Regions from separate parts of the Homo sapiens genome. Here region 2 is linked to region 1. The links are contacts of gene promoters, found by promoter capture Hi-C in blood cells and fetal thymus (Javierre and others, 2016). All regions are on one chromosome and are shown on one strand. Each heading gives the region's core, a stretch centred on a gene start or on the middle of the fragment in contact. The rest is flanking DNA. Distances are from core to core; before and after follow the strand shown. Region 1 holds the start of TBC1D9 (TBC1 domain family member 9). Region 2 holds the start of MGST2 (microsomal glutathione S-transferase 2).

What was found. Contacts are between HindIII fragments. The CHiCAGO score rates a contact against its expected background, and 5 or more counts as called.
Region 2: the fragment with the promoter of MGST2 here is called in contact with the fragment with the promoter of TBC1D9 in region 1 in 5 of 17 cell types (M0 macrophages, M2 macrophages, monocytes and 2 more); the score reaches 21.8 in M0 macrophages.

Annotation. Positions count from the first base shown.
Region 1 is chr4:140,753,734-140,759,705 of GRCh38, forward strand. TBC1D9 (TBC1 domain family member 9) reads right to left here and starts at 2,652. Exons shown (of 21, transcript NM_015130.3): 1 at 2,183-2,652. The coding sequence starts at 2,312. RefSeq lists a silencer at 2,005-2,694 and enhancers at 2,350-2,992, 2,993-3,634, 3,125-3,174. The HindIII fragment of the contact is 6,603 bases long and covers 1-3,457 here.
Region 2 is chr4:139,662,537-139,668,508 of GRCh38, forward strand. It overlaps MGST2 (microsomal glutathione S-transferase 2), which reads left to right and starts at 3,283. Exons shown (of 5, transcript NM_002413.5): 1 at 3,283-3,541. The coding sequence starts at 3,484. RefSeq lists enhancers at 2,842-4,041, 3,338-3,507. The HindIII fragment of the contact is 3,780 bases long and covers 1,933-5,712 here.

The sequences.
Region 1 (5,972 bases), core at 1,402-3,901:
TCAATACCTGTCTTCTACTAGGCTTGAGCTTCACAACATTAGCACTTCTAGAAGTTGCCAACAAATATTTGTTAAATGATTTAGTGAGTTAGTGAATGAATGAACTTACATTAGAATCAGAATATACTACACATTGTGTAACATTTCTAAAATGTTCCTGCTACATTTGACATGGCACCAAGGTATTAGACCAAACATTTTACCTCTCTTGCTTGAAAATAGCCTTTGTTGTCATAAATACTTTTACTCATGACAATGATTTCAATTATTCCATTAATAAGTGCAATCACTGTGATTTCTCAATTTACAAGATGTAATTTTACCTAAGTGAAAGAAGTCATTGATGACAAGATGAGATTTCAAGTGGACCGTAGTCAGTTATAGCTCTAAGAACCAGTAGGAACACAATACAAATGTTAAGCAGAAAAAGAAGGCTCTGAATCCCTGAATTTTTCACATCCTATTACAAATGACACAGGTAAATGAATACTTAATGCTTACAAGGTGTAGGAGGGTTAATTGCAGAAGGAAATGTTCTCTTTTTACTACAATAAATTATCTACTCTGTGTTGTTGTCCTAGGCTTAAAGGACTACATGGGCCGGGTGAGGTGGCTCACGCCTTTAATCCCAGCACTTCGGGAGGCCAAAGTGGGCGGATTATTTGAGATCAGGAGTTCAAGACCAGCCTGGCCAACATGGTGAAACCCCATCTATTAAAAATACAAAAAAAATTAGCCGGGCGGGTTGGTGCATGCCTGTAGTCCCAGCTACTCAGGAGGCTGAGGCAGGAGAATCACTTGAACCCAGGAGAAGGAGGTTGCAGTGAGCCGAGATCACGCCACTGCACTCCAGCCTGGGCGACAAAGCAGGACTCTGTCTCAAAAAAAAAAAAAAAAAAAAAAAAAAAAAGGACAATGTGGGCTGATTCCAATATTAGATATGTAAATTACATATTAACATTTAGAGTTAGATAACTTCTACAAAATGACCTGGAAAATCCTGGTATCAGATCACTAGTAAGTATTTCCAGAATGGGGTCTGGAGCTCTGCAGATTTATCTTTTCTGGTAGAATCAAGATCCTTCAAACATACCAGTATACATTGTACCACATGACACCTGAATTTTAATCTTAAGAAAATTAGTTTATAAATATAATCATAAGTAAATACATATATCAAGAATCTTTATTTCATAGCACAGCATTTGAAAGCAACAATTTACCTATTGTGCAAACTCCAGGTGATATATGAGGTTGATATAAGCTCAACTCTGAGGAGGGTCAAAGTTCATCTCTTTTTTGCAGTCTCCTTTCTAGTGAAACCTCTACTATTTCTTCTGCTAACTTTTTCACTGTAAAAAGTATTCCAGTTCTGTTCATTCTAAATAACACAGAGATGGAGAAGGTCCAATTTCTCTAGTATGGTATGAGTTCGAGATTATTTCTAATATGGCACTACTTTGGATATGGGTCTGACTGATCTTATTATCCTGAATGATATGACATGGCTTCAGCAACAATTACAATAATACCTTGAAGGGAGGGGGTTTAGGGAAGAAGTGATTGAGCAAAAATAGTTAAAATGCAGTTATACAGCCAATTATTTTTACAACTAGAACCAGACAATTTGCTTTGCTTTATGTCTAATTAGGTGAAACAAAAAAATTCCTGTTTCCGTATTCATTCTCTTCGGTCATAACTCATATAGGAAATGACCACATCAGTTCCTTACTTATCGCTTCCCTGGAAACAAAAGAGCATTTTATACCTGATCCTGCTGTTGCCAGTAAAGAAAGTGGAGCAAAAATTAACCTTCTTCCATCCCTCTTTTCCATTTGGAAAACAATATTTTTAAGGGGGGGAGGGGAAGGGAATGATGCATTCAATATATAGGGGATAATACATTCCCTCCGCCCCAGACTCACTCTTTCCCATTCTCCTCAACATATCCACTTAAAGAGCGCTCAGTACGCTGAGGGCCCCAAGCCTGACAGAGTCAAAAAAAGAAGCATCTCTGCCCAACCTGAACATCACGACTCTCGATGCCTCGCATACAACGAGGCAGGGCGGGTCGCCCAGCCCCAGGGGACCGGGCGGCGTCTCCCGAGCCTGCAGCCCAGGCCGCGGGCGGCGCCGCAGCGCTCCCGGCTCCCCTCCTGCAGGGATCGGCCACGGTCCTTACCCGCCAGTCCGCCGCCGCCGCCTCCATCGCCGGCGTGGCCCTTCCTCCGCTGCAGGATGAAGTATGGGTTGGCCCTCTCGGTGATCCACAGCGCGTTGGCCAGCAACACCTCCTCCGGGTTCACCCACATGGTCCTGGCTGCCGCGGGCGGGCGCACAATGGGCCCGTGGGTCCAGTCCTGCACCCACCACCGCGACAGGCGCGCACTCCTGGGCACACGCGCGCCCGCCCGCCCGTCCGCTAGGTGCGGCGGCGGCGGCGGCAGGCGACTTCAGGGGGTGGCCCGCGGCGTCCGGGCCACAACAAAGCCCCAGCAGGCGGCCCGGGAGGACGGTGAGGACGCGGGCGCGGCAAGCAGCATCCTCCCCGCGGCGTCGCCGCCCCGCGAGAGCCCGCGGCCGCAGACGCCCGGCCTGGCACTCTGCAGCCCGGCTCCCGGCCCACGGCGGCGGGAGGAGCGGGAGGAGGAGGAAGAGGAGGAGGAAGGGAGCGGGAGGAGGAGGAAGTGGTATAGCTCAGTCCCGGGATCCGGCTCAGCGCCAGGCAGGGCTAAGGGCCACCCGAGCGGATTCGGCCCCGCGGTCAGGGCCAAGCTGGGCTCCGGCGCTGCTGCTCCCGCGGCGCCGACTGGAGCTCCAGAGCCCCTCCCGTCTCTACCTGCTCGAGCTCCCGAAGTCGCCGCGCCTTAACGCGCCGTGTCGGGGCCGCAGGCGCCACTAGGGAAGCCCAGCTCCCCGCTGGAAGGACGCTCCGGACACTGCGAATGAATGACGACAACGCGGCTCACTTGGAGCGGGTCCGGGTTTGTGCGGACTCGGTACCACCGCGGGCTCCGCGCGCCGAGCTGAGCAGCTGTGGCTGGCTTCGGGGGAACCTTCGGGGGAAGCTCCTGGGGACCGTGTGCCAAGCACTGGGCCCGACGCCCATCCCAGCAGGGAGGACGCCGCCAGCCTGCGTGGGTGCGTGTGTGCTGTTTGTGTTTAAGGTTGACGCTCTATGGGATAGCGCCACCCCTTTTCCCAGGAAAAGTGTTTCAAGGTTCCAGACCTGGAGCTCGGTTAGAGACCCGGGGTCGGAAGCCAACGCAGCCAATGGTCGTCGATGTTTTTGTTTCCTGCATCCCCAGGGCAAGTCATGCGCTAAACTTGTCACCGCTTGTGACCCCTCCCCCCTCTCCATTCCATTGTAATTAAAGTGGCCTAGCTAAGTGCATTACATCACTTCTTTCCTTGACCTGTAGGGCGTGAGCAATAGAGAAGTTGGAAGCGGCCCAAAAGCTTAGACCAACTAATTCACACCACAGCTGTTCCTATATCGCATTTGGGGCTTCGAAAACTGGGCATGGCAGAATTTTAAAATTTATCCACTCTTGGTAGATGGATTTTTTTTTTAATCAGTGAAACCAGAAACACACAAACCAGGGCAGCTTTATCCCTAGACAGTTTCAGTTTCCCCAAATACTTCGAGCTTCCAGTGGTGATCACAGCCCATCTGCCTACATATCTGATGACCATTTTTTTTTCCTCCCGCCCAGGAGATCTGGAGGATAGTTCAGCCAAAAAAAAAAAAAAAAAAAAAAAAAAAAAAGTTCCTCTTCCCAAATGATGGGAATTTAGCAGACTCTGCTTTGTTGTGGATGCTGGGCAATCCTAGGGACTTTTCCCTTTCCAAATGAGCAGAGATTCAAATGAAACCTTCTTGTGTGGGCTTCAAAATTGTGACTTTTGTAGCTCCGACTTGAATTGTTGAATTCCTTCAATTAGTCGAATGAGCAAATCACCAGCCATTCTAATGAGACTGCCATTTCATCTGTTCGCTTCCTACCGCTTGGGCTCTCAAGGAATGGAAGTTTCCCTTGATGTTACCACACAGACTGATCTGCTTCTTCCAGGCATCAGTGGAAACCTCATGTATTTAACACAGACTCAAAAAACTCATTTGGCACTTTTGGTCACAGTGCAGTGCCTTCAGTCACAAAATCTGCAAATAAAAAGCAAACAATAAGATTATAAGTCATACATATGCAAAAATTATATTAATATATCATGTAACTTTTATATTTTTGAAGTGTTTCCATAGGTATTCTTTTACTTGATATAATTGGTATTTTTAAAAACTCTAAGTGCCTTAATACCATGTTGGGGTTTGGAAAATGATACCACAAAGCATGGTGCTTTGGCATGCTGAGTACTTTGAACTAAAGGAGATTGAAAGGCCTCAGAAGCAGTTTCTCTCTGACCTCCTTCTGCCCTCCTGTCTCCCACCTCTCTTTCTCCCCCAAAGTGAGTCATGGAAACTAAAGGCAGGTCATAGAAACTAAAACCCCTCTTCCCAAAGGAAGCTACAAAACCTAGAAATATTACCATTCCTCACTCTTCTGTGTAAGAGCAGACATAAAGAATAGAGAAATAAAGAAATTATCTACCCTACCTTGTTGGATAGTAGGTCCCCTTTCCAAAGGAGTCCTGCTCTAAACCCAGGAGGAGGGAAAGCTATACGGAGAGGCCAAGAAGAATCTGAACAGACAGACTGGGTCTGTTCTCAGTCTATTACCATTGGATCTTACCCTTTTGTCCAACCACATCTACATGGCTGCCCACTCTTCATTGAACCTAAGCACAAAAATGGACAGAGCGAGACTCTCTCAAAAAAATAAACAGGCTGGGCATGGTGGCTCATGCCTGCAACCCCAGCATTTTGGTAGGCAGAGCCAGGAGGACCCCATCTGTATTAAACCAGAGAGACCCCATCTCTATTAAAAAAAAATAGACAGGTTTCCCTGGGTTTTTCCGTCTTCATTTCTGAAGGTTCCCATGTCACCTAAAACTTTGATTAAACAAATGTGTTGTGCTTTTCTCTTGTTAGCCTGTCTTTTGTTATAGGTGTGTTGGCTATGACCCTTATGGGAAGGAAAGATATCACACCTTTTCCCCTACAACAATCTTTTGTTTTTGTTTTGTTTGAGACAAAGTCTCGCTCTGTCACCTAGGCTGGAGTGCAGTGGCACGATCTCAGCTCACTGTAACCTTCACCTCCCAGTTCAAGTGATTCTCCCACCTCAGCCTCCTGAGTAGCTGGGACTACAGGTGTGAGCCACGACGCCCAGCTAATTGTTGTATTTTTAGGAGAGACGGGGTTTCACCACGTTGGCCAGGCTGGTCTTGAACTCCTGACCTCAAGTGATCCGCCCGCCTTGGGGCCTCCCAAAGTGCCAGAAGCCACCATGCCCGGCCTACAACAATCTTTTGGCTTGCCCTTGGCATGCTGCTTAAGGTTGTGGTTTCACACCAAAACCTATACCCTAGCCCCAAAATGTAAGTTACTTTGGCCTTTTTTATATACTGGTACCAAGTGCTATTTACTTATACAATTTATTCATTCATTCATTCATTCATTCACTTATTCAACATATAATTATTGAATGCCTACTATACTCTAGGCCTTGGAATAAAAAGTGAACAAGGCCAGGCGTGGTGGCTCAAGCCTGTAATCCTAGCACTTTCGGAGACCGAGGCAGGTGGATTGCCTGAGCTCAGGAGTTCGAGACCAGCCTGGACAACAAGGTGAAACCCCGTCTCTACTAAAATGCAAAAAATTAGCCAAACGTGGCACCATGCACCTGTAGTCTCAGCTACTCTGGAGGCTGAGGCAGGAGAATTGCTAGAACACGGGAGACGGAGGTTGCAAGGAGCTGAGATCACGCCACTGCACTCCAGCCTGGATGACAGAGTGAAAAAAAGTGAACAAAACATACAAAGTCCCTGCTTTTGTGAAGATTAAAATGTAACCA
Region 2 (5,972 bases), core at 2,033-4,532, 1.1 Mb before region 1:
CCATTATAATGGAAGTTAAATTTTAACATGAGTTTTGGAGGGGACAAACATTCAGACCATAGCAATTACCAGTATGCTGTTTGTCCTCTTATTTTCCTTTTCATAGAAAAATGTAATAAATGGAACATACTAGAAGGATCTATGGGAACAACATTCAGGGAAAATGCCATTCCTCTTCAACCAATCCAGGGAAAACGTACAGAGAAACTCTAATTTTTGTGAGTTTTTGTTAATGCTATGGCAGTATTTCAGCTGTGGGTCACCTGGAAATTTTATCACTGCAGAAGGTGATAAACATTTCATTATACAATGCTCTATTCTTTTATACTTTCCTAGAGGCAATAACTACATATACCGACAATGAAGATCTTTTTAAATAGACACGTGGGGTTTTGAAGCACTTGAGATTTTATTGATTAATTGATTTTTTATTTTTTTACTTTGTGTCAACCATCTCTTAGAATCTGGATTTGGGGGACTGACTTAAGATTGGCTGGGAGAAGTCAGTAGGGAACCTCAGGATTTGTCCAGAAGCTGGGAAGTTTCATTTTTTTTTTTTTTTTGAGACGAAGTCTCGCTCTGTCACCCAGGCTGGAGTGCAGTGGCACGATCTCAGCTCACTGCAAGCTCCGCTTTCGAGGTTCACGCCATTCTCCTGCCTCAGCCTCCCGAGTAGCTGGGACTACAGGCGCCCGCCAACACGCCCGGCTAATTTTTTTGTATTTTTAGTAGAGACGGGGTTTCACCGTGTTAGCCAGGATGGTCTGGAACTCCCAACCTCGGGTGATTCGCCCACCTCGGCCTCCCAAAGTGTGGGATTACAGGCGTGAGCCACCACGCCCGGCCGGAAGTTGTAGATTTTAAACCAGTTGACTAGTACAGGTGTACCCAAGAGTTTCTCAAAATAAGAGTTACCAACACCCAAAAGTTACAGTCATCAGCCAGGGCCACAATTCTCTGCTCAGCTCCTCCTGCTGTTGTTCCTCTCTTCCCGAGCCGTTCTCTGACTTTGAGAGCCTCTGCCTGTCCCCAGGCCTAATGTAGACCTCTCCTTCGAGATCTGTCATTTGGGAGGTTATTATAGTAGATGGTGATATGGGTTCAGGGCAGCTAGTTTGCAGTTTAGAATCTCTGCCATGTACTGAAGCCCAAAACTATTAAACTGAGTATACAAGAATGTTTTGGTGCTGCCCCAGCTTCTTGGCTCTACTTTCTTATCTAATCTTAGTTGTCAATGATTTCAAGAGCAAACAGCCAAGGAAGCCTGAAGACCAACAGAAACTTTGAGCAGACCTGGCTTGCAACTATTTATAAATTAATTTTGTTATTCCTTCTTTCCTGTATATGTGTAGTTCCATGAATTCTACTTTGAACTGGTTATAACATCTTACTGGTTCCCTCATGAATGAGTTACATAAAAATTTTGATATGTTTTCATTTTATGTTGTATGAAAGGCATGATTTTTGCCTCTGAAAGTATTTTTTAACATTAGGTACATTATATGCTAAGTACTTGTCTAGATACTTTATGTGTTTATTTTGCAGACACACAGAACACATTTGTATATGCCAGGTGCTGTTTTAAGTGCTCTATAAGTATTAACTAATTCAATCCTTAGAATAGGATTATGTCATTTAAACTTCTCTTCAGCTCTTATTAGCCCTATCTTATTAAATGGAGGCTCAGAGAGGCCCAAGGTTGTGTTATTAAATTGTAGGGTCTGTGTGAGGCTGAGGCAACTGCCCTCCCCAGAAGACACTGGGAGCTCCCTGCTAGGGACTAAATGTTTGTGTCCCCTCTGCAATTCATATGTTGAGACCCTAACCCCCAACGTGATGTTATCAGGCATTTGGCAGATAATTAGCTACAGGTGAGGTTATGAGCATAGGCCCCCATAATGGGATCTGTGCCCTTATAAGAAGTGACCAGGAAGCTTACTCTTTCTCTGTCTCCAACATGAAGGTGTCCTTCTGCAAACCAGGAAGAGGGCCCTCACCAGGAACTGATTGGCCAGCACTGTCATCTTGGACTTCCCAGCCTTCAGGACTGTGACGAATAAATTGCTATTGTAAGCCACCCAGTCTATGGTATCTTTGTTATAGCAGCTTGAGCCAAGATATACCCTCTAATGGTGCTGTAGGATGGGGTGAGGAAAGGCCCCCAGCTCTGGTTTTTGGGAAGCTGCATCTTTATTTTTATTATTTGTTTGAGACAGGGTCTCACTTTGTCACCCAGGCTGAAGTGCAGTGGAACGACCTTGGCTCACTGCAGTCTCAGGCTCCTGGGTTCAAGCAATCCCCTTGCCTCAGCCCCCTAAGTAGCTGGGACTACAGGCACGTGCCACCATGCCCTGCTAATTTTTGTATTTCTTTAAGAGATGGGGTTTTGCCATGTTACCCAGGCTGGTCTCGAACTCCTGAGCTCAAACCATCTGCCCATTTCAGCCTCCCAAACTGTTGGGATTACAGGCATGAGCCATCCTTCCAGGCCAGAATCTGCATCTCTAAAGAGCAGATTCTCCTGCCTCAGCCTCCTGCGTAGCTGGGACTACAGGTTCGTGCCACCATGCCCAGCTGATTTTTTGTATTTTTAGTAGAGAAGGGGTTTTACTGTGTTAGCCAGGATAGTCTTGATCTCCTGACCTCGTGATTCACCCTCCTTGGCCTCTTAAAGTGCTGGGATTACAAGTGTGAGCCATCGCGCCCGGCCGGTTTATTTTTTTAAAAATGGCTGGGCACAGTGACTTGTGGCTGTAGTTCTAGCTACTTGGGAGGCTGAGGCAGGAGGATTACTTAAGCCCAAGAGTTGGAGGCTGCAGTGAGCTATGATCGTGCCACCACACACTCCAGCCTGGGTGACAGATCAAGACCCTGTCTTAAAAAAAAAAAGTATGATTATTATCAGAGTCTCTAGGTGACAGTGAGAGGCAGCCTGGTGCAGGGGATAGGGCACAGTTGTAATCTGCTAGACTGGGTTCAAATCCTAAATCGGCCATTCAGAGCGTGAATACATTAGAACTGGCTTAAATTAGCATTTAAAATGTCAACAGGATTAAGTAAGTAGTTCCTTCTCACTTTTTCCACAGGAGGTGAGAAAGGTCTCAGCAAGGCCCTAGGAGGGAAGGGCGTGGGGATGAAAGGGATCCAGAGAGTCTGTGCATTGGCAGAGAAGATAGTGTAACTGGCACTGCGGCTGGAGGGCTGGTCCCACAGTGAGCTACAGCCCTGCCCGCTGGCCGTGGGAGAGGCTTAAAACAAACGCCGGAAGCAACTCCCAGCCCCATAAAGATCTGTGACCGGCAGCCCCAGACCTGCCTGCCTTCCTGACTTCTGTTCCAGAGCAAAGGTCATTCAGCCGCTTGAATCAGCCTTTTCCCCCCACCCGGTCCCCAACTTTGTTTACCCGATAAGGAAGGTCAGCATTCAAAGTCAAGAAGCGCCATTTATCTTCCCGTGCGCTCTACAAATAGTTCCGTGAGAAAGATGGCCGGGAACTCGATCCTGCTGGCTGCTGTCTCTATTCTCTCGGCCTGTCAGCAAAGTAAGAGGCATGGGAAGTTCGTGTGTGTGCGCGTGTGTGCGTGTGTGTGTGTGTGTGACAAGGCTTGCGGGAGAGAGAGGGAGGGAGGGAGATGGGTCCGGTGTTTTGTTTCCTACTTGCCCTTGCAGGTAGCTCTGGGTCCTCAGAGCACAGTCGCCTCAGGGTCACCCATGCCGCCTGCTACCCTCCTTCCCAGGGGCAAGCAGAGACTGAGAACATTCCAGAGATTAGTTCTCCCAACTGGAACGCTGTGGGGCCTCAGAGCTCAGCGATTCTGCATCATCTGTGATTACGACCCACAGCCCGTTCAAACGAGCGTTAGTAGCCTGCTAACCTGCAGGAAGTGGTGTGAATATTAATTACAAGTGTTCCAAAGGAAACGTGCCTGCTTCTAAACCTGGTTGTGATTTCTTGAACGTTGATGTTTTAATTAATGTGTTTTCTTAAATAAACTGCCTATGGTGGTATGATTATCAGATTGAAAAAAACTTCCTTCAGAAATATTAGCTTTAGATTAAGTAATTAGCTCTAAATTTTAAAACAGCTTCCCACTAGGATTATTCAATATCTCGACTGCCTGGTTAAATAGAGGGCTTTTACTCCATGGGAGTCACATTTGCTCAATTCATATTATCTTACCTACAATGTCAGCTGGGGAAAGGGGTCCGAGTGCAAGAGTGCAAGACTTCTTACCAAGCATGCATATTTCTTTATATTTCCAAGTATGCCTGTACCAGGAAATAGGGCCAAGCCGTAGACTGCTCAGGTTACACAAACAGCCAGAAGCAGGAAGGCCTCACAGCTGAGGATCCAGTCCAGGCCTCCGTGCATGCTCAATGTCTTGCCTAGCCAGTCTGTTTTGAGATTGTATGAAGATCTTGAACCTTCAGACTCACGTTTTGTGGTTTGATTCACACAATCTGTTGTGGAGAAGAGCAGGATATTTGTTTCTAATTAAAGAAGCACTTAGATCTGTTAAAAGGAAAACCCTAGACAAATTACATTTAACTGAGTTTAATTGAGCAAAGAACGATTCACAGTTGGGCATGGGGAACCGGAATAGGTTCAGAGAGACTCTGGGGCTGCCACGTGGTAGAAGAAGATTTATGGACAGAAAAAGGAAAGCGACTCCCAGAAAACGGAAGCATATAGTTCACGATGTACGGAGAAACCTTTAGGCTGAACTTAAAATATGTCAGAAGGCAGCTTTAGGCTAAACCTAATTTAGCAGGTCTAAGGCTCACTGTTGGTAGCATCCTGACTCACAGGTGCTACCAAACCTGCATGCGCCTTTATCCTAGGCCTGCAGGTCCACAGATGTCCCAAAGCTGACAGAGGTGCTCATCCTCCCTGTTTGCTGCTTGTGCAGGGGGCTGTGTGAACTGGGGCCAGAATGTTAGGGGGCTGGATGGAGTGGGGGTAGGGGTGGGGAGAGAGGAGAGGAGACTGGGTGAATGATGATTAATGGTGGACAGGGAATGTTTAATGACAAGGTGTTAGGGCCGGGCACGGTGGCTCACCCCTGTAATCCGAGTACTTTGGGAGGCCAAGGCAGGTGGATCACGAGGTCAAGAGATCGAGACCATCCTGGCCAACATGGTGAAACTCCGTCTCTACTTAAAATACACAAATTTGCTGGACATGGTGGCACGCTCCTGTAGTCCCAGCTACTAGGGAGGCTGAGGCAGGAGAATCGCTTGAACCTGGGAGGGGGAGGTTGCAGTGGACTGAGATCACAGCACTACACTCCAGCCTGGCAACAGAGCGAGACTCCATCTCAAAGAAAAAAAAAAGATGTTGATGAAGAGTTGAACTTTGTAAAATAATTGAAAAGCTGTATTCTGAGCCAAACATGAGGGACGAGTGGCCGGTGACACAGCCCAAGGAGATTCTAAGAACATCTGCCCAAAGGGGTCTGGCTACAGATTGGTTTTATACATTTTAGGGAGACATAAGACATCAACCAATTCATGTAAGATGTACATTAGTTTGGTCCCAAAAGGCGGGACAACTGGAAGTGGGGCATGGGCTTCCAGGTCATAGGTGGATTTAAAGATTTTCTGATTGGCAATTGATTAAAAGAGTTTATCTACAGACCTCAAATCCATAGAAGGGAGTGCCTGGGTTAAGATAAGGGGTTGTGGAGGCCAAGGTTCTTACTATGCAAATGAAGCTTCCAGGTAGCAGCGTTTGGAGAGAATAGATTGTAAATGTTTCTTATGAGACTTGAAAAGGTGCCAGACTCTGTTAATTCTCTCCTGGATCAGAGAAAAGACCTGGCAAGGGAAAGGGATTTTCTACAGAATGTAGACTTTCCCCACAAGAGACAACTTTGCAGGACCATTTCAAAATATGACAAAGAAATATATTTTAGGGTAAAATACTTCAATTTCTTTCAAGGCCTGCTATCTGTCATGTGATGCTATACTGG